6 separate regions of the Homo sapiens genome follow, and all the other regions are linked to region 1. Evidence: promoter capture Hi-C in 16 types of primary human blood cells and fetal thymus (Javierre and others, 2016). All regions are on one chromosome and are shown on one strand. Each heading gives the region's core, a stretch centred on a gene start or on the middle of the fragment in contact. The rest is flanking DNA. Distances are from core to core; before and after follow the strand shown.

Region 1 (2,740 bases), core at 116-2,615:
GCTTATGATTTAAGCACTCTGTTTCTATAGAACATGGTAGCATAAGTTACTATTAGGAAAAGGATCTCACCATCTTTATCCTGTGGTCTCAAGCAGCCCTGCACACTTGCAAATCCCTAGAATACTGAGTCTACTTTTATATTTTTGCTTTTTCCTGTTTATTTAGGTGTTATTTAAATACATTAAAATTCACCCATTTTAACTGTACAGTTTAACTTTTCTTATGTATACAAGGTGTAACTACTAGCATGATCAAAATGTAAGATGGTTCCTTTACCTTCAAAAGCTTTTCCATCCCCTTTTGTCCGAGTTCAGTTATGAGACACTGGATTGGGTTTCACAGCCTTTTCTAGCATTGACTGGGGTGATTTCAGTAAAGTCACTTTACCTCTCTAGATGTGTTTCTGCTGTTGTTAAATGGGGAATGCTGGAACAGATTTGTTTGCGGGGACTCTTCCAATACTTTCAGAAAATGCGAGAATAGGGTGAGGGTGGGAATCTCAGACTTGTGGGCCCCATGATTGATATAACACACACAGGCGGCAGACCCTAATGGGTAAAAGCATGTGGTTGCATCAGTTAAGGTTTTTCTCTCTTCTCTTGCTAGCGTGTTATCTTTTCTTTTCTTTTCTTCTTTTTTTTTTTTTTCGAGATGGAGTCTAGCTTTTGTCGCCCAGGCTGGAGTAGGCTGGAGTGCAGTGGAGTGATCTCGGCTCATTGCAACCTCCACCTCCCGGGTTCCAGCGATTCTCCTGCCTCACCTCCTGAGTAGCTGGGATTACAGGCGCCCGCTACCACGCCCGGCTGATTTTTGTACTTTTAGTAGAGACGGGGTTTCACCATGTTTGGCCATGCTGGTCTCGAACTCCTGACCTCAGGTGATCCGCCCATCTCGGCCTCCCAAAGTGTTGAGATTACAGGCGTGAGCCACCGCGCCCGGCCGCTAGCGTGTTATCTTTTCTAAGCATCAGTTTCCTTATCTGCAACACCAGGCTTATTAACAAGACCTATCTGTACACTGTTGTGGTGATGAAGTGAGATGTTCAGGCACCCTTAAATGTTGGTTGATATTTTTATTGCAGTATACTGTAAAGTCACTGCATTCGACTATCTCCGCTACTACACATTTACGCAGACTGATTTCCATAACCAAAACACAAGCACAAAGCTCATGCCCCCGACTCACGCAACCCGGGAAGCCCAGCTGCCCACGTTCTAGGGCTCTGAGAACACTAGTGAACGAACTCCCGTGCTTTCAAAGAGCTGCGGTAGGGGGCAGAACCGGGAACCGGATGTTCTAAGCCTGTCGTACGAGCGCGACGTAAAGCGGATCTGCTTTATGGCACCTTGCTTTCGCCGTAAAGCGCAGTCAGCGAGCCCACGTGCTTGTGTTGACTGGACAACTTCCTGGTGGAAAACCGCGACTCTTGCAAGTGGGCAAACTTGACGTTTTCGCTATGGGCAAACGCGGGAGCCGGAGCCAGAGCCAGCTACTCAACACCCTAACTAAAAAGCAGAAGAAACATCTTCGAGATTTCGGCGAGGAGCATCCCTTCTATGACAGGTCTGAAGGGGCGTGGCAGGGCTCCCCAGTCGCCAGAGATGTATCCTCGAGTTTGGTCCTCTGGTCTCCCAGATAGTGCTGCTCCGGCCTTTTCCCACTATTCCCTGGCTCCCGCTGTGCTCGGCCGGGGAGATTCTGGCGCCATCCCGCCGGGAGATGGAGTGCTTCACGGGCCTTTTTGTTGAGCCTGTAATTTCCTGCTAAGAGGCACGCCCGTTGTGTGGGGGAGGATTTTTTTTTTTTTTTTAAGACGGTGTTTCGCTCTGTCGCCCAGGCTGGAGTGCAATGGCGCGATCTTGGCTCACTGCAACCTCTGTCTCCTCCCGGGTTCAAGCGATGCTCCTGCCTCAGCCTCCCGTGTAGCTGGGATTACAGGCGCCCGCCACCAAGCCCGGCTGATTTTTTGTATTTTTAGTAGAGATGGGGTTTCACCATGTTGGCCAGGCTGGTCTTGAACTCCTGACCTCAGGTGATCCACCCACCTCGGCCTCCCAAAGTGCTGGGATTACAGGCGTGAGCCACCGCGCCCAGCTATGGGGGCGGATTTTTGTGTGGTCAGAGATCTAGGAATTTTTTGTAGACACACATATATATATGTATATATATAATTTTTTTTTTTTAAGACAGAGTCTCGCTTTGTCGCCCAGGCTGGAGTGCAGTGGCGCGATCTCAGCTCACTGCAACCTCCGTCTCCCGGGCTTAAGCGATTCTCCTGCCTCAGCTTCCCGTGTAGCTGGGATTACAGGCGCCCGCCATCACACCCGATCAATTTTTTGTATTTTTAGTTGAGACGGGGTTTCACCATGTTAGCTAGGGTGGTCTCGAACTACTGACCTCGGGTGATCTGCCCGCCTTGGCCTCCCAAAGTGCTGGAATTACAGGCGTGAACCACCGCGCTTGGCCTGTTTTTATAATTATTTTTAACTTACATAAAATGATTGTACATATTTGTGGGATACAGTGTGATATTTTGATAACAATACATGTACCCAATGTGTAATGATCAAATCCGGGTAATTAGCATATTCATCATCTCAAACATCAATTCTTTGCGTTGGGAACATTGAAAATCCGCTCTTCTAGCCATTTGAAAATATACAATAAATTGTTAGTTATAGTCACATCATATGTTGTGTGTGTTTTTAAAGAATTTGTTGGGACATCATTGATCTTTGC
Region 2 (2,740 bases), core at 69-2,568, 490 kb after region 1:
CAGGTGGTCAGGGTTGGGTAGATCCTTGAATCCTTCAAAATAGCTCGTGATTGCTCCTTGAGTGTGAATCTTCGTAATCAGAAATTCACTCCTTTGTCTTAAAGCCTTTATCAATGAAGTCTTAGCAACCATTTATGCCTCTGTTGAATGAGTATAATTGTATGGCTGAGTCACGGCTGAACTTAAAAGGAGGATTGGCCTGGTTAATCCTTCCTAAGCACCAGTTTTGCTGTCTGGAGAGTTGCTACCAGGCACTCAGGTCTGCCTGTCTGGATGGGAGGCCCCAGTGGAATACTTAGATTCCACTAACTGAGAGAGTCAGAGAGAAAACACACCCAGTGCAGGTGCCTGATTAATGACTTATGATTAAAATAATAGTATAGAGAGGAACTGACCATTAATTACTCACATTTACATACTAATTTTGGTATTTTTGCTTTCAAGGAAATACAATACCAAGGCACAAATTGGTTCCCTCCTTTAAACCTCAATTATCATAATTTTGCTCTATTTACTCTATTTCTAGTTTGCTTCTCAACTCCAGGGAGGACTCTCCTTGGCTTTGCTTGTAGTCAGAACTGAAGCGTTTCAAGCCAAGGCATGTCCGGTCACGTCTTGCCTCAGGGCTGGCTGCTCCGGCTCCAAGTCGGGAAGATCCAGAGGCCTTACTTCTCCAAGACAAGCAGAGATCCTCAACGTTCAGACACTTCTGCCGGTGTGTGAAGCATTAAAGGTGGGGGAGAATCTCCCTCTTCTCCCTCTCCTCCCATCTACACTCTCCCCAACCCAACTTTTCTCCTGGTGTTTAGACTTTGACGTTGGTTTACTCCATTGATCTTATTTCTCATTTCCAAAAAGAACTTAGTTTCCTACCATCCATTCCTTTTACTCCAATATCTGGCATTTGAAAGATGTTAATGCTTTTTAACAAGTGGTATTGGGAAAGTTGGATCACCATATGCAAAAGATTGAAGCTGGACCCTTACCTAACACCAAATACAAAAATTAACTTGAAATAGATGAAACCCCTAATCATAAGAATTAAAATTATAAAATTTTCAGAGGAAAATATAGGAAAAAACTTCATGACATTGGTTTCTTGGATATGACATTAAAAATACCAGCAACTGGCCAGGCATGATGGCTCATGCCTGTAATCTCAGCACTTTGAGAGGCCAAGGTGGGAGGATCACTTGAGCTCAGTAGTTCGAGACCAGCCTGGGCACCATAGTGAGGCCTTCTCTCTACTAAAGATAAAAACGGCCGGGCATGGTGGCTCATGCCTGTAATCCCAGCACTTTGGGAGCCCGAGGCGGGTGGATCACGAGGTCAGGAGTTCGAGACCAGCCTAACCAACATGGTGAAACCCCGTCTCTACTAAAAATACAAAAATTAGCCAGGCGTGGTGGTGTGTGCCTGTAATCTCAGCTACTTGAGAGGCTGAGGCAGGAGCATTGCTTGAACCCAGGAGGCGGAGGTTGTGGTGAGCTGAGATCGTGCCATTGCACTCCAGCCTGGGCTTAATAAGAGCGAAACTCTGTCTCAAAAAAAAAGAGATAAAAACAATTAGCTGGGCATGGTGGCACATTCTGATAGTCCCAGCTACTTGGGAGGCTAAGGCACAAGGATCACTTGAGCCCTGGAGACGGAGGCTGCAGTGAGCTATGAATGTGCCATTGCATTACAGCCTTGGTGACAGAGTGAGGCCCTGTTTCAAAAAACAAAATAAAAACATAAACAAAAAACCAGCAACAAAAGAAAAAATAGTTAAATTAGACTTCACCAAAACTAAAATGTCTGTGCATCAAGGGACACAATCAGCAGAGTGAAAAGACAAGCCACAGGATGAGAGAACGTATTTGCAAATCATATATTTGATGAGGGATTAATATCCAGAATGTACAAAGAACTCCTACAACTTAACAAGAAAACAAACAATACAATTTTAAAAATGGGCATAGGACTTGATTAGACAGTTCTCCAGAGAAGGTATGTAAATGACCAATAAGCATATGAAAAGATGATCAACATCACTAATCATTAGGGAAATGTAAATTAAAACTACAAGGAGATACTACCTCATACTGATTAGAATGGCTAGTATAAAAACACATCAAAAAATAACAAGTGTTGGTGAGGATATGGAGAAATTGCGCTGTTGATGGGAATGTAAAATGGCACAGCCTCTATGGAAAATAGTATGGCAATTCTTCGTAAAATTAAAAACAGAATTACCATATGATTCAGCAATTTCACTTCTGGGTATATACTCAAAAGAATCGAATGCAGGGTCTTAAAGAGATGTTTGTATATCCGTGTTCATGGCAGCATTATTCACAACAGCCAAAAGAAGAAAGCAACTCAAGAATCCATAGATAGATAAATGGAAAAAATGTGTGACATACATACAATGGAATATTATCAGTTTTAAAAAGGAAGGAAATTCTGACGTGTTGGCTTAAAAAATCACACATTTTTTATACATTTAGAAAGGAGACTTTATTTCTTATAAAGGGTTACATCCTGCAGGGTGGCCATCTGACAGGCTGAGAAGTGTAGCCTCTGGTTTTTTAAAGCCATTCAGCCACTCTTATATCTTTTGATTGGAGAATTTAGTTCATTTACATTCAGTGTTATAATTGATAAGTAAGGACTTACTCCTGCCATTTTGTTATTTGTTTCTGGTTGTTTTGTGGTCTTCTCTTCCTTCTTTCCTTCCTGTCTTCCTTTTAGTGAAGGT
Region 3 (2,740 bases), core at 88-2,587, 430 kb before region 1:
GCATGGTCCCAAGGGCTCACTATGAATAACAGACAGTCTTATCACCTGGGAAAGTTAGAGGGTTTGTTTAGAAGTTCCATCCCAGGAACGCAGGACAAAGGCCAGACAAATGCTTCATTATACAAAAGGAGGGAAGGCTTCAGCATCTTAGATACTAACAACCTAGACCCAAGGCTTGTCCCCCTGTTGTCACTTTCAGCAAATTAAACTCTCCCTTGCTGACTCCTCAGTCTCTTCATCATCTGGTACCACTATGCCTGGCCAATCTCATTTCTGCTGTTCCCCATCATAAAATCTGCATCCTACCCCTCCTGGTCTATCTCAATCTCCCCACACAAGTTACAGAATACTGAGATAACCTCAGGCGTGCACATGAATAAGACCTGAGCATGGACAAATAAGACCAGTAGGACCGAACCAACATTAGTATTTAAAAGTGAGCAAAGAAAGAGAAGCCCATGAAGGAGTCTGAAGAGGTGGGGAAATCCAGCTGCTGCACGTGGTGATGGAAGCCCAGGAAAAGAGTTTTTCAGTATGCAGGAAAGGACCAACAGTGTCAGCCGCTGCAGAGAGGTCAAGGAAGATAATGACTTAAAAGTTGCCATTGGATTCAGCAATAAAGTAGTCATCTACAACCTTGCTGAGAGCAGTTTCAGCAGAACAATAAGGGCAGAAGCCAGCTTGCAGTGGGTAGAATACAGAATGGGAAGTAAAGAAGCTGAGCGACAGATACAGATGCCTTTTTAAAGAGAAAGCGGTGGCTGAAAAGTGCCATGGGGCCAGCAAGGAATTGAATATACAAGACGGAAGGCTTAAACATGTTTAGGTCCTGATAGAGAGAGGGGAAAAGAGAGAGGGACAGGGTGAAGGGACAGGGAAGAGAAAGGGAAAAGTGATCAAGCCAGGCTGCTAAGGAGGTAGGAGAGAAAAACTCCAGAGGACAAAAAAAGGGATAAGCTCAGACAGAGAGAGGCTCCTCTTCCATAAAATCAGAAGTGAAGAAAAGAGGCATGGTGGCAGATGTAGGTAAGTTGTAGGTTTGATGGCACTGAGTTAAGGGGTGGGATGTTTCCATCTCTGGGTTCTACACTTTCTGTGAAGTAGGAAGCAATGTCAAATGCTTAACTTGTGAAGGCCAAATATTTGAGGAGTGGAGGAGAGTGAAGAAGGCACTGAAAATCTAGTCTAGAGAACTAGAGAGAGCGGTGACTAAGGAAGCCTAGAATGATCACAGGAGAGTGGCAGGGAGCAGTGGGGTCTGGGAAATGGGAGACAGTAGTACAATGAGTCTACAGATCGTGTGGGTTTCTCTATGACATGCAGCAACACTGGCAGAGAAGGCTAATAGTTTGTTAGCTCCAGGGTTGAGGTTTTGCCATCCAAGTATGAAAGAAAGCCAATAGGGCAACAATATTAGCAAGACAGAGGTTGAAGTAAAATGAAGCTGAGAGGGTATGGTATGAGAAGGTATGACTGAAAAGAGAGAGAGAGAGAGAGAGAGAGAGAGAGATCAGTGGTCTGGGAGTCCCTAGTTTTGAAATAGAAATAATGTCAATGATTGAGTACAAGAAGTAGAAAGATAGAAGGTTGTGGTGTGGGAGGTGACCTAGGGGATGATGAGGTCCAGGTGGGGTGGACGTGTTGAGAAGAGAAGATGCAGGAATGGGGGGGTCGAGTGTTGCTGGGCATCTTCATGAGCCCAGAAGAAGCCCAGGATGAAAGCAGGGTTCAGATGGAAGAAAAGACTGTGTAACACATGCTGGTGTCATTAGTGAATGGGGAGAATGACTAAGAGAGTGTTAGATGAGGAAGAGGAAATGCAGAGTGGAAATCACTAATCAGAGGCCTGTGGGCCAACTCAGACCCAATAGCCAGGTTTCATTTGGCTGTCATGGTGTTTTTTCTTATTTTTTTTTTTGATGATGGTTTACTATCTACCATTTTTAAAAAAAATCAGGAAAGTTCATATAAAAATCTAGATTCCTTGAAAGCCTTCTCTTAGAAACTATAAAGATCTGGGAAAAGGCCGGGCACAGTGGCTCAGGCCTGTAATCCCAGCACTTTGGGAGGCCAAGGCGGGAGGATCACCTAAGGTTGGGAGTTCGAGACCAGCCTGACCAACATGGAGAAACTCTGTCTCTACTAAAAATGCAAAAAATTAGGCAGGTATGGTGGCGCATGCCTGTAATCCCAGCTACTCGGGAGGCTGAGGCAGGAGAATCGCTTGAACCTGGGAGGTGGAGGTTGCAGTGAGCCGAGATCACGCCATTGCATTCCAGCCTGGGCGACAGAGTGAGAATCCGTCTCAAAAAAAAAAAAAAAAAAAAAAAAGATCTGGGAACACAGGGTTTATCTCCTTCAACTGTGAACTGCGGAGCAACTGTGCCCTTTTTGAGCATCATGGGGTCTCCAGCTCACCACTGAACCCCCTAGGGCTTGTGTCACTCATTTAAGAGGCAGACCTGCCCTTGTCACAGTACACTGGAGACACTTTGGAGAGCACTGGCAATGCCAGTGAGCTTGAGCCTAAAAGCGGCCAAGACTTTCACTTGAATCATTTGGGGAGTGAAGATGGGGAGCAGGGATGGTGCCAACGCCAGCGGCTGATGCTGAGATGCAGCAGAATTAGCAGTCTCCCCTTGAGAAGGCTACAGAGAACACAGAACACTCGAGGGAGAGGCAGGTGCAGATGAAAAGGCAGAGGGAGTGAAGTGGTCAAGGAAGAGTCTGAGGCTACGAA
Region 4 (2,740 bases), core at 173-2,672, 420 kb after region 1:
TGTTTTTGCAGGAAGAGAGAAATGGCTTGTCTGCCCTTTCTGGAGCTGGGAGGGGTTCTCCTTGTTCTCCATGTCCTTAGATGCTGTGCTTTTCAATAAACCCACCAAACTGTATTTGTGAACAGTTATGGTCATTAGCCCAAGGAATCTCTCTCCTGTTCAGTTTAGGCACAGAGGTTGTGGGTTTCTCACAAGACTGGAGTATAGAAGAGGGTTAAGAGTAGGGGGTTTGGAGTTAGACTGCCTGGATGAAAATCTCAGCTCTGCCAGGGTAGCTGTGCAAGCTTGGCCTTGGCCAACAAGCCACTTTACCTCCTAGTGCCTCAGTTTACTCATCTGTAAAATGGAGCAGCACACATTATCCACCTCATCAGGTTGTCAGGATTAAAGGTTTTAATATCAGGGAAGTGACTCAACATTGCCTGGGTGTACATTATGGGTTTGCAGTGAACAAGCCTCCATGACTTCTCCATTACTGTCCTTGAATGCCCGGCAAGTGGAACCCAACCGTGCCAGATCCTCCTTTTGGTGGAAAGTATTCAGCCTCTTTGGTTCTGTACAGCAAGCTTGAAGTTAAACAGGGGGATGGTATGAAACCTGGGGTCCCAGGGCCCTTAGCTATGAAAGTCGTCATTGGTGACCTTGAGATATGTTTAGTATTTAAAATACCAAATCATAAAATCTTCTGAAAGTGGTTGCACAGGCTAACCCCACATCAGATTTCCTTACCTTTGGCTGGAATTAAATCAGCTCCAGGCTGTCACAAACTGAGAAGAAACTCTGACTGGGAAAACGAAGGCATTATCCTTAATAAATACAATTTGTTTGTCAGACAGAATCTTTCAGAACATTGGCTATGTGAAGGGAATAAGAGGTGTCCCTTACAAATGGAAAGATTAAAAACCACTAACCTCTGACTCATCTCTAGGATTTGCCAAAGTTCAAGTTTATTTAGTTGTTGTATCAAATAATTTTCTTAAACCTAGCTTTTACTCAGAAAAAGTACAGTATTAAGTTAGGAAAAAAAGGGGGGGCAGGCGCGGCAGCTCATGCCTGCTGGTAATCCCAGCACTTTGGGAGGCCAAGGCGGATGGATCACTTGAGGTTAAGAGTTCAAGACCAGCCTGGTCAACATGGTGAAACCCCGTGTCTACTAAAAATACAAAAGTTAGCCGGGCCTGTGTGGTGGGGGGCGCCTTTAATCCCAGCTACTCGGGAGGCCAAGGTAGGAGAATTGCTTGAACCTCAGAGGCAGAGGTTGCAGTGAGCCTAGATGGATCCACTGCATACAGCCTGGATGAGGAAGTGAGACTCTGTCTCCAAAAAAAAAAAAAAAAAAAAAAAGGCAGGAGGGGGGCAGGGGAGATAATTTAGACTAAACGCTATTCCTTGTGCTCCTCTACCTGATAATTTTGGAGGCCAAAGCAGAATTGTCTGGATAACCACAACCAAGGACACAGCCTATTATAAAATAACTGGGATACAGTTTCCATGTATAAGGTCAACTAGAGGTTGGTTATCCCTATTTCAAATTCTTATCCCTTCTGTTTTGCCAGTAAACTCAGAAACCCACTGATAATTTCAAAATAGAATTCCATTTACAAAATTACATTCTGTCTCTCTATTTTTGAAGAGTATATATTTTTCCCTAAGGTGAGGTTCATTTGTAGCAGGCTTGCTGATGGGTAGGTCCTGAAATGAGAACAAAACTGAACCATATGGCTTGAGAATGAGAAATGGGCAACAGAGTATAATGAGAGCAAATGCAGTGTTGTACCATGGGGGTCCCAGGACTTCTCTGCAAGAGGCTCCCCTCCTATCTGACTGGGCTAGGATCTCATGATTGGCAACATTAGTTGCCATTTGAGCCAGCTGAGAGAGGCAGTGGGAAGCCAGGACACCTCAGCCTGCCCAGGGAGGTCTAGGCTGGCCATCTCTAAACCTTTGTCCTCTCAGAGTTTGGAAAACCAGCAGCTGGAGTAGATATTTTTATTTCCCAATCAGTAGAATTTTAACCAGTTAAGATGATCAATTAGAATTCTCAACCAGCCCAATCTTGACCTAGCTGGTTTTAGGCAAGATGACTTAATGCACAAGGGACATCTCTATCTAGAGATGGTATTGGTCCCTGCACAGAAAGAACTCTTAAAGAAATTCTGGGGCCATTTATCTGGGTGTTTTAAGTGATGAATAAAGAAATACATACTAGGAAGAATCCTGGGATGGAATTTGTACGAATTAATTGATTTCTAACACTTGTTCTTATTATAGATCCAACAAAGCTTACCTCAATCTTTTAAAAATGTCCTGTTTAGGCCAGGCACGATGGTGCACACCTTAATCCCAGCACTTTGGGAGGCCGAGGCAGGAGGATCGCTTGAAACCGGGAGGTGGGGGTTGCAGTGAGCCTGCAGTCCCCACCACTCTGGAGGCTGAGGCATGAGAATCGCTTGAACCCCAGAAGCAGAGGTTGCAGTGAGCTGAGATTGCGCCACTGCACTATAGCCTGGGTGACAGAGCAAAGAGCAAGAATCTGTCCAAAAAATAAATAAATAAATAAAAGAAGAAGAAAGCAAAAAGAAAGAAAGAAGAAGAAAAAGAACAAATCATAACTCTTCATTTATTTGCTTAGAGTCAATCTATTGTATTGATTTCTGGTCAAATGACTGCTGTTTCTTAACCACAAGATTATAACCAACTTAGTGGTGAGAACTAGATTAGGAGTTAGGAAACAGAGTCT
Region 5 (2,740 bases), core at 63-2,562, 410 kb before region 1:
GGTTTAAATATGTTTCTTCAACACAAAAGGACTAACTTTTTGTGCTACATCACCCTGCCTTCAATAAAAAATGAGTTCATATTGCTGAGAGGTGGAGCGGGGGCGGGGTGGGGATTGAGAGAGAGAGAGAGAGAGAGACAAAGATACAAATTCAAATGCCAGCAGAGTCAAGAAGTTTCAGTAAACGAGTGATGAGCACTGGAAAGTAAATTGTGAATTAGTTGCCCCCTCTAAAGTATCACAGAGATTCAAGTCCAGCAAGTGTAGTAATGAAGGAATTCAGGCCCTGGATGGCCAGATTTTTTTTTCCTTTTTCGTTTTTGAAGGGAGGCTGAAATCCAGATTTTTATGTGAAATCTCCCAGTTCTTATCTGTGGCACCTAAGTCACAAAAACTCTAAACATCATGCAGGCCAAATAGTATAAGCCCATGCCCAGATTCAAGCACACAGTTTGCAAACTCTGGACACTCAGAATAATCTCCTAACCATAGGAATGGGAGAGACCGAGACATTTCACTTTGGGACTCTGTACCACCTTCTCTCTGGATTTCCTTTTTAGAGAAAATGAACTTTCTGGAATATTCAGAGCTAGGGCACTGTGATTAAACCAACCCCACTAAATTGCTAGAGCTCACACCAGCAATTCTCTTCTCTCTTATGGAGTGAGGTGGAGGGGGGCAAACATACACTCCACTAAAGCCAGCAGAAGTTCTCTTTTTTTCTAATAAGCAACAAATTATTTGAGGGGACTTGGTTGAAAACTAGTTCTACCCCTATAGTTAAATCCAATTATACCATAATTACAGGGAGTCTGCACACATCAGAGCTTAGTTGGGAAAGAATAGGAACACCACAGTTCTTCAAAACGCTGGCCAGAGGTACCCCTGTAATTTCACCAACTGTTGTCCTGGCGGAACCTTCATGGGAAAGAAGACACATGTGGCTCTTGATTTTCAATCAGAGGACAACCCACTGAAAGCTCCTTCACTGCTGAGTGGCGTTGGCTCACTTATGGATTTAAAGAAGACAGGCATAGGGAGATGTCTCTTATTTTGTTTAAACCCGGCCAGAAAATGAGTGGGCTCGTATTTCCAAGTCCAAATAGGATTAAGCACTAGGTCTGTTGAGAAATAGGAAATTATCATTTCTACATTCTTACTATTTCCTACTTTTAATATTTTTTTCTTGAGTGTGAGTGGGAAGGGGGCGTCCAGATTTTTTAAGCTTTAAATCAGAAATTACAAGAAAAGCTATTACAAATATCTCTCATTCATTGTGAAAGAGCCTACTTACTTATCCATTTTTCCATTCTCACATGGACCTATGGCCCTCAAATTTGAGGGAGATTGTAAATTGTTTCTGTTGGTTATAATAGGAATAAGAAGCAGAAGAGCCTACTAAAGCTTAAAAGGTTTGATGTGTGCAATGTTATAACTGAAATTTTTGTTAAATAATATTCTTTTGCTGAAAGTCCAAGGGCATGTCTATTCTTCTGCTGAAACCTTTTCAATTGCCTTTGCAAAAACTCAAGGTTTCACTCAGAAGAGAACACCTAGCATCGTGCCTACTGAGGTTAAATATTCTCAGGCTTTCACTGAGAACAGTGTTGATTTTGCAGAAGTAATATCATGCTCTAATTCCTCTCTAATCCCCATTTCATTTTTGTTACAAAATACATGACTGAAAAGAAGGGAAGTTTTAGTTAATTCACTAAGCGGTATTAAATCCATGCCGTGGTGCAGCCTGTTTTGCTAGGTTCTGTACGAAAGAGAGAAATGGCTGAGTCTGAAAATGGAATGGGGAGGGGAGGGGTAAAATCCCTAGCCTGGGGAATCCAAAAAACCTCTTTTTTCAAATGGAGACTCGAATACTTACTGGTTATGTTACCTCATACAAGTTATTCAACCTCTGTTTGCTCATTTGAAAAAGTCTGTGCCGTGAGGATTACAGGAGCAAAATATGAGAAAAATGCTGGCCTAATAATAGTAGGAGAAGCACTGAGATGGTTAGTGGACTCCAGCCCACCTCTGAAGGCAGGCACAGCCTAGCCAGGGAAACAGCGGCACCCATCTTTCTGCCACACAGAGCAGCACCAGGGCCGGGAGGCCTGCATGGAGCCATGTGAGCAGAGACCAGGAAGGGGGGCCAGGGGCTTACTATTAGGTAGCATTTCAGAAGAATGTTCTGGATGGAGGCAGGAGTATGACAAAACATAGATTGACAAAACACTAGACGGCATCTCTGAGGAACAGAAGGCAGCCCTGTGAGACTGGAGTTGTGGTTGTGGGACCAGAATCAGAGACCCGCCGGTGCCTCAGCAGCCCCTGCCCCAGGATGCTGTATTATTGAGGAGCAAAGTGGCTGACAGCTGGCCCTGGGGAAGCCTGGACATTTCACACAACAGGGAGAACCAATGGAGGGGGAAAGTTGGGTCAGGTGTGCTGGTGAATGCCTAACAACTGGCTCTCAGGAACACTCTGGTTTTGTAGCGTAGTATAAGCTTTCTCACCACGGCTGATTTCAAGCTACCAACATGTTCAACAACCAGATGGCAAGCTGTTTCCTGGAATTTTAACAACTGACTCTCACAAGCAGGTATTAGTTAGCTGCAGTCAGCATCCGGATTGGGCTGAGGAAAACTAGGGGAATTCCAGCCAGGTCCTCAGCACCCAACAGTGAACCCGGAAACCAGGAACACCCAGAAGCTTCTGCATTTTACCATTTTGGAATCTCAGTTGT
Region 6 (2,740 bases), core at 84-2,583, 280 kb before region 1:
GCAAGACCCTATGATGCATTTTTCCTCATACATTACTTAATTTTATTCTATAAACAGTTTACCAAAATACTGTCTTACTTTTACAAAACAGAATTGAAATGTAAAGAGATTAAGAAAATTAACTCATGATACTCAGCTAGTAAATTGCAGAACTGGGGTTCAAATCCAGGCCTATATTTTCTCCTAAATTTAGGAGTTTTCTATTCCAACGCTTTTGTCATAGTAGGCTTTCAGCTTCAGGAAGTCACTTGAATCTGATGCTGACATTCTTTTCTGAGCAGGAGCTGGCAGTGGTAGACATGGGACACCATCCTCCATCCCAACTCTCTCCTCCAGCCCTGATGCCACTTGCCACCCAAGTGAAAGATACAGGTTGAGCTGCCCACACTTGTTCTTGCCCCAGGCCCACTAGAGAGCAGACTACCTGACACACTGGCCCCTTGTCACCTTGGAACAAGGCCTTTCCCACTTATAGAGACCCTAGAACTCTCAGGAACCCCATATTGCTCTTCACTCTGCAGAGCTGTTCTTCAGAGGCAACGGTGCTGAAGAGAAGGATCTGGATCTGGGCCCCTAATGAAACTCCCCACTAGACTACTGCTTCAGCTTAACCAAACTGGAAATTTGAGCCAATTCTTCTTTATTCTGCTACCCATCTCAGAAAGCAACTTGCAGAGGTCAAGGACAGCAGAGAGTCTTCTTAGCTTCCAATCATTCTGCTTCTTACTATGAACATGATCCATTCAAGTGCAAGAAACCTGTAAGTTCAGGGCTAAGCTGCCATTGAAATGTCTGAGTGCTTAAGAAGCAGGAAAGAAAATGCATGATGCTTTTAAGAAACCACTATTAGCAAAACAATCTCAAATAAACCCAGAAAGTCCTGATAGAGCTGGATGACTCCTACCCAGCCTCAGGGGTCATTCATTTACCAATTTATGATTCAGAGACTATCACTGCTGGCTCAGTCTCTCTCCTATCCCAATCATTGTCCACCTACCAAACTGACCTGTTAGTGGTAGATCTGCCAACAGCCACTCATAGAGCACCAGAAACAATGCCCTCCTCTCTCCCTCCCACCACCACTTATCTTCTCCAGAAATAAAGGGTTAATGCAGGAACTCCTAAGACCCACAATACTCATGACTCACACTGTGGTTAACCAAAAGAACCTACCTTCCTCAAGTCCAAGTCATTACTTCTCTGTACCTCTCTGGACAAGCAGAGAGGCAGGTGTGAGTCAGTGGATCTAAAAGGTGAAGCATAAAGCTATTACAAATTAATAAGAAAAAGTCAAGCACATTGTAGGGGACTGAATTGTGTCCCCTAAAAATATATGTTCAAGTCCTAATGCCCTAGGGCCAATGAACACAACCTGATTTGGAAGTAGGGTCTTTGCAGATGCAGTCAATTTAAGATGAAATACTGCATTAGAGTATGCCCTAAATCCAATAATTGGTGTCCTTATAAGGAGATGAAGATTTAGAGACACACAGATAAGCATGGAGAGAAGACAGTTGTCTGAAGGCGACAGAAATTGAGTAATGCAGCTGTAAGCCAAGGAATACCAAAGAATGCCAGCAAACCCCAGAAGCTAGAAAGAGGCAAGGAAGAATTCTTTCTTAAGAGTCTTCAGAGGGAACGTAGCCCTACCAACACCTTGATTTCAGATATCTAGCGTCTAGAACTATGAAAGAATATATTTCTGTTGCTTTAAGCCACCAAGTTTGTAGTAATTTGTTATGGCAGCCCTAGGAAACTAATATATGCACCATGGGGGGTAAAATAGCAGAATGATATGTAAAAGCAAATCATGAAAGAAGAAATGTAAATGACAATAAAAAATGTAAACCATTTTCAGCCTCGGTGGAAAGAAATATGACTTAAAACAATGATATGTCCTTTTTACTTTTCAGATGGCTAAGATTAAAAAGAATTATAATGCCTGGTGTCAGCATGGGGGGTGGGAAATGGACATCTATTCACTGCTTTTGGGAATAGGCGAGAACAACAAATTCTAGAGAATAATATGGTAATATATATCAAAAGCTGTAAAATCATTATATTCTAGGAAATAATAAGGTAAGGTGCAAATATCTATGCATAATACTATTTCCATCAAAGCATTACTTATAGCAAACTTAAAAAGGGAAAGAAATTTAAAGTTCAAACAATAGGAATTGTTAAATAATTTATGTTATGTTCACACAATAAAATTACTATGAAGCCATTAAAATTGATGATATCGATTCATATTTATCGACAAGAAGAGATGTTCAAATATATTGCCAAGTGAGAAAAATAGCCTAATCTAATCTTCTGTGTGTGCCTGCATGCCTGTGTGTGTGTGTGTGTGTGTGTGTGTGTGTGTGTGTGTGTGTAGAGAGAGAGAGAACTAAGGATGGGCACTGTGTTACTGGCTGCTAACGTTATGAATTATTTGTGTTTTCAATTCTTTAATTTTTCCAAAGTGAAAATCAATACTTTAAAAAATTAGTACATGTTTCAAATGAAGGAGATGGATTGGAGAGCTTCTGCTGCTGAGCTACATCCCTACAATGTGTCCAGAACAAAGGGTACTAGGGCGGCCTGCCTACACCCCTTTGTCCAGCACAGGAAGCCAATTGTTCAGAGCAGGCCAAAGGTCCACAATGGGCCGAGGACAAACAAACATTTCCCTTGTCTTTTCTTACCTCAACTTGACTCTGCTCTGAACCCTTAAGCACACCCTCCCAGACCTCCC

Evidence for each region. Contacts are between HindIII fragments. The CHiCAGO score rates a contact against its expected background, and 5 or more counts as called.
Region 2: a fragment that was not itself captured here is called in contact with the fragment with the promoter of UTP25 in region 1 in 10 of 17 cell types (fetal thymus, total B cells, total CD8 T cells and 7 more); the score reaches 17.2 in fetal thymus.
Region 3: a contact is called between a fragment that was not itself captured here and the fragment with the promoter of UTP25 in region 1, in 1 of 17 cell types (monocytes). The highest score is 5.3, in monocytes.
Region 4: a contact is called between a fragment that was not itself captured here and the fragment with the promoter of UTP25 in region 1, in 2 of 17 cell types (endothelial precursors and naive B cells). The highest score is 6.9, in endothelial precursors.
Region 5: a fragment that was not itself captured here is called in contact with the fragment with the promoter of UTP25 in region 1 in 1 of 17 cell types (monocytes); the score reaches 5.8 in monocytes.
Region 6: a contact is called between a fragment that was not itself captured here and the fragment with the promoter of UTP25 in region 1, in 1 of 17 cell types (neutrophils). The highest score is 5.6, in neutrophils.

What each region holds. Positions count from the first base shown.
Region 1 is chr1:209,826,607-209,829,346 of GRCh38, forward strand. UTP25 (UTP25 small subunit processome component) reads left to right here and starts at 1,366. Exons shown (of 12, transcript NM_014388.7): 1 at 1,366-1,564. The coding sequence starts at 1,458. RefSeq lists an enhancer at 1,406-1,455. The HindIII fragment of the contact is 3,327 bases long and covers 285-2,740 here.
Region 2 is chr1:210,321,104-210,323,843 of GRCh38, forward strand. No RefSeq gene overlaps it. Among named protein-coding and RNA genes, the nearest start is that of HHAT, 6.4 kb to the right of the region's middle. The HindIII fragment of the contact is 7,025 bases long and covers 1-2,740 here.
Region 3 is chr1:209,401,098-209,403,837 of GRCh38, forward strand. No RefSeq gene overlaps it. Among named protein-coding and RNA genes, the nearest start is that of MIR205HG, 26 kb to the right of the region's middle. RefSeq lists enhancers at 2,514-2,740, 2,612-2,740. The HindIII fragment of the contact is 5,993 bases long and covers 1-2,740 here.
Region 4 is chr1:210,247,621-210,250,360 of GRCh38, forward strand. No RefSeq gene overlaps it. Among named protein-coding and RNA genes, the nearest start is that of SERTAD4-AS1, 15 kb to the left of the region's middle. The HindIII fragment of the contact is 1,716 bases long and covers 565-2,280 here.
Region 5 is chr1:209,418,815-209,421,554 of GRCh38, forward strand. No RefSeq gene overlaps it. Among named protein-coding and RNA genes, the nearest start is that of MIR205HG, 8.6 kb to the right of the region's middle. The HindIII fragment of the contact is 179 bases long and covers 1,224-1,402 here.
Region 6 is chr1:209,541,673-209,544,412 of GRCh38, forward strand. It overlaps LOC105372898 (a long non-coding RNA gene), which reads right to left and starts at 1,246. Exons shown (of 7, transcript XR_922535.3): 1 at 1,174-1,246. RefSeq lists a silencer at 838-1,038. The HindIII fragment of the contact is 6,088 bases long and covers 1-2,740 here.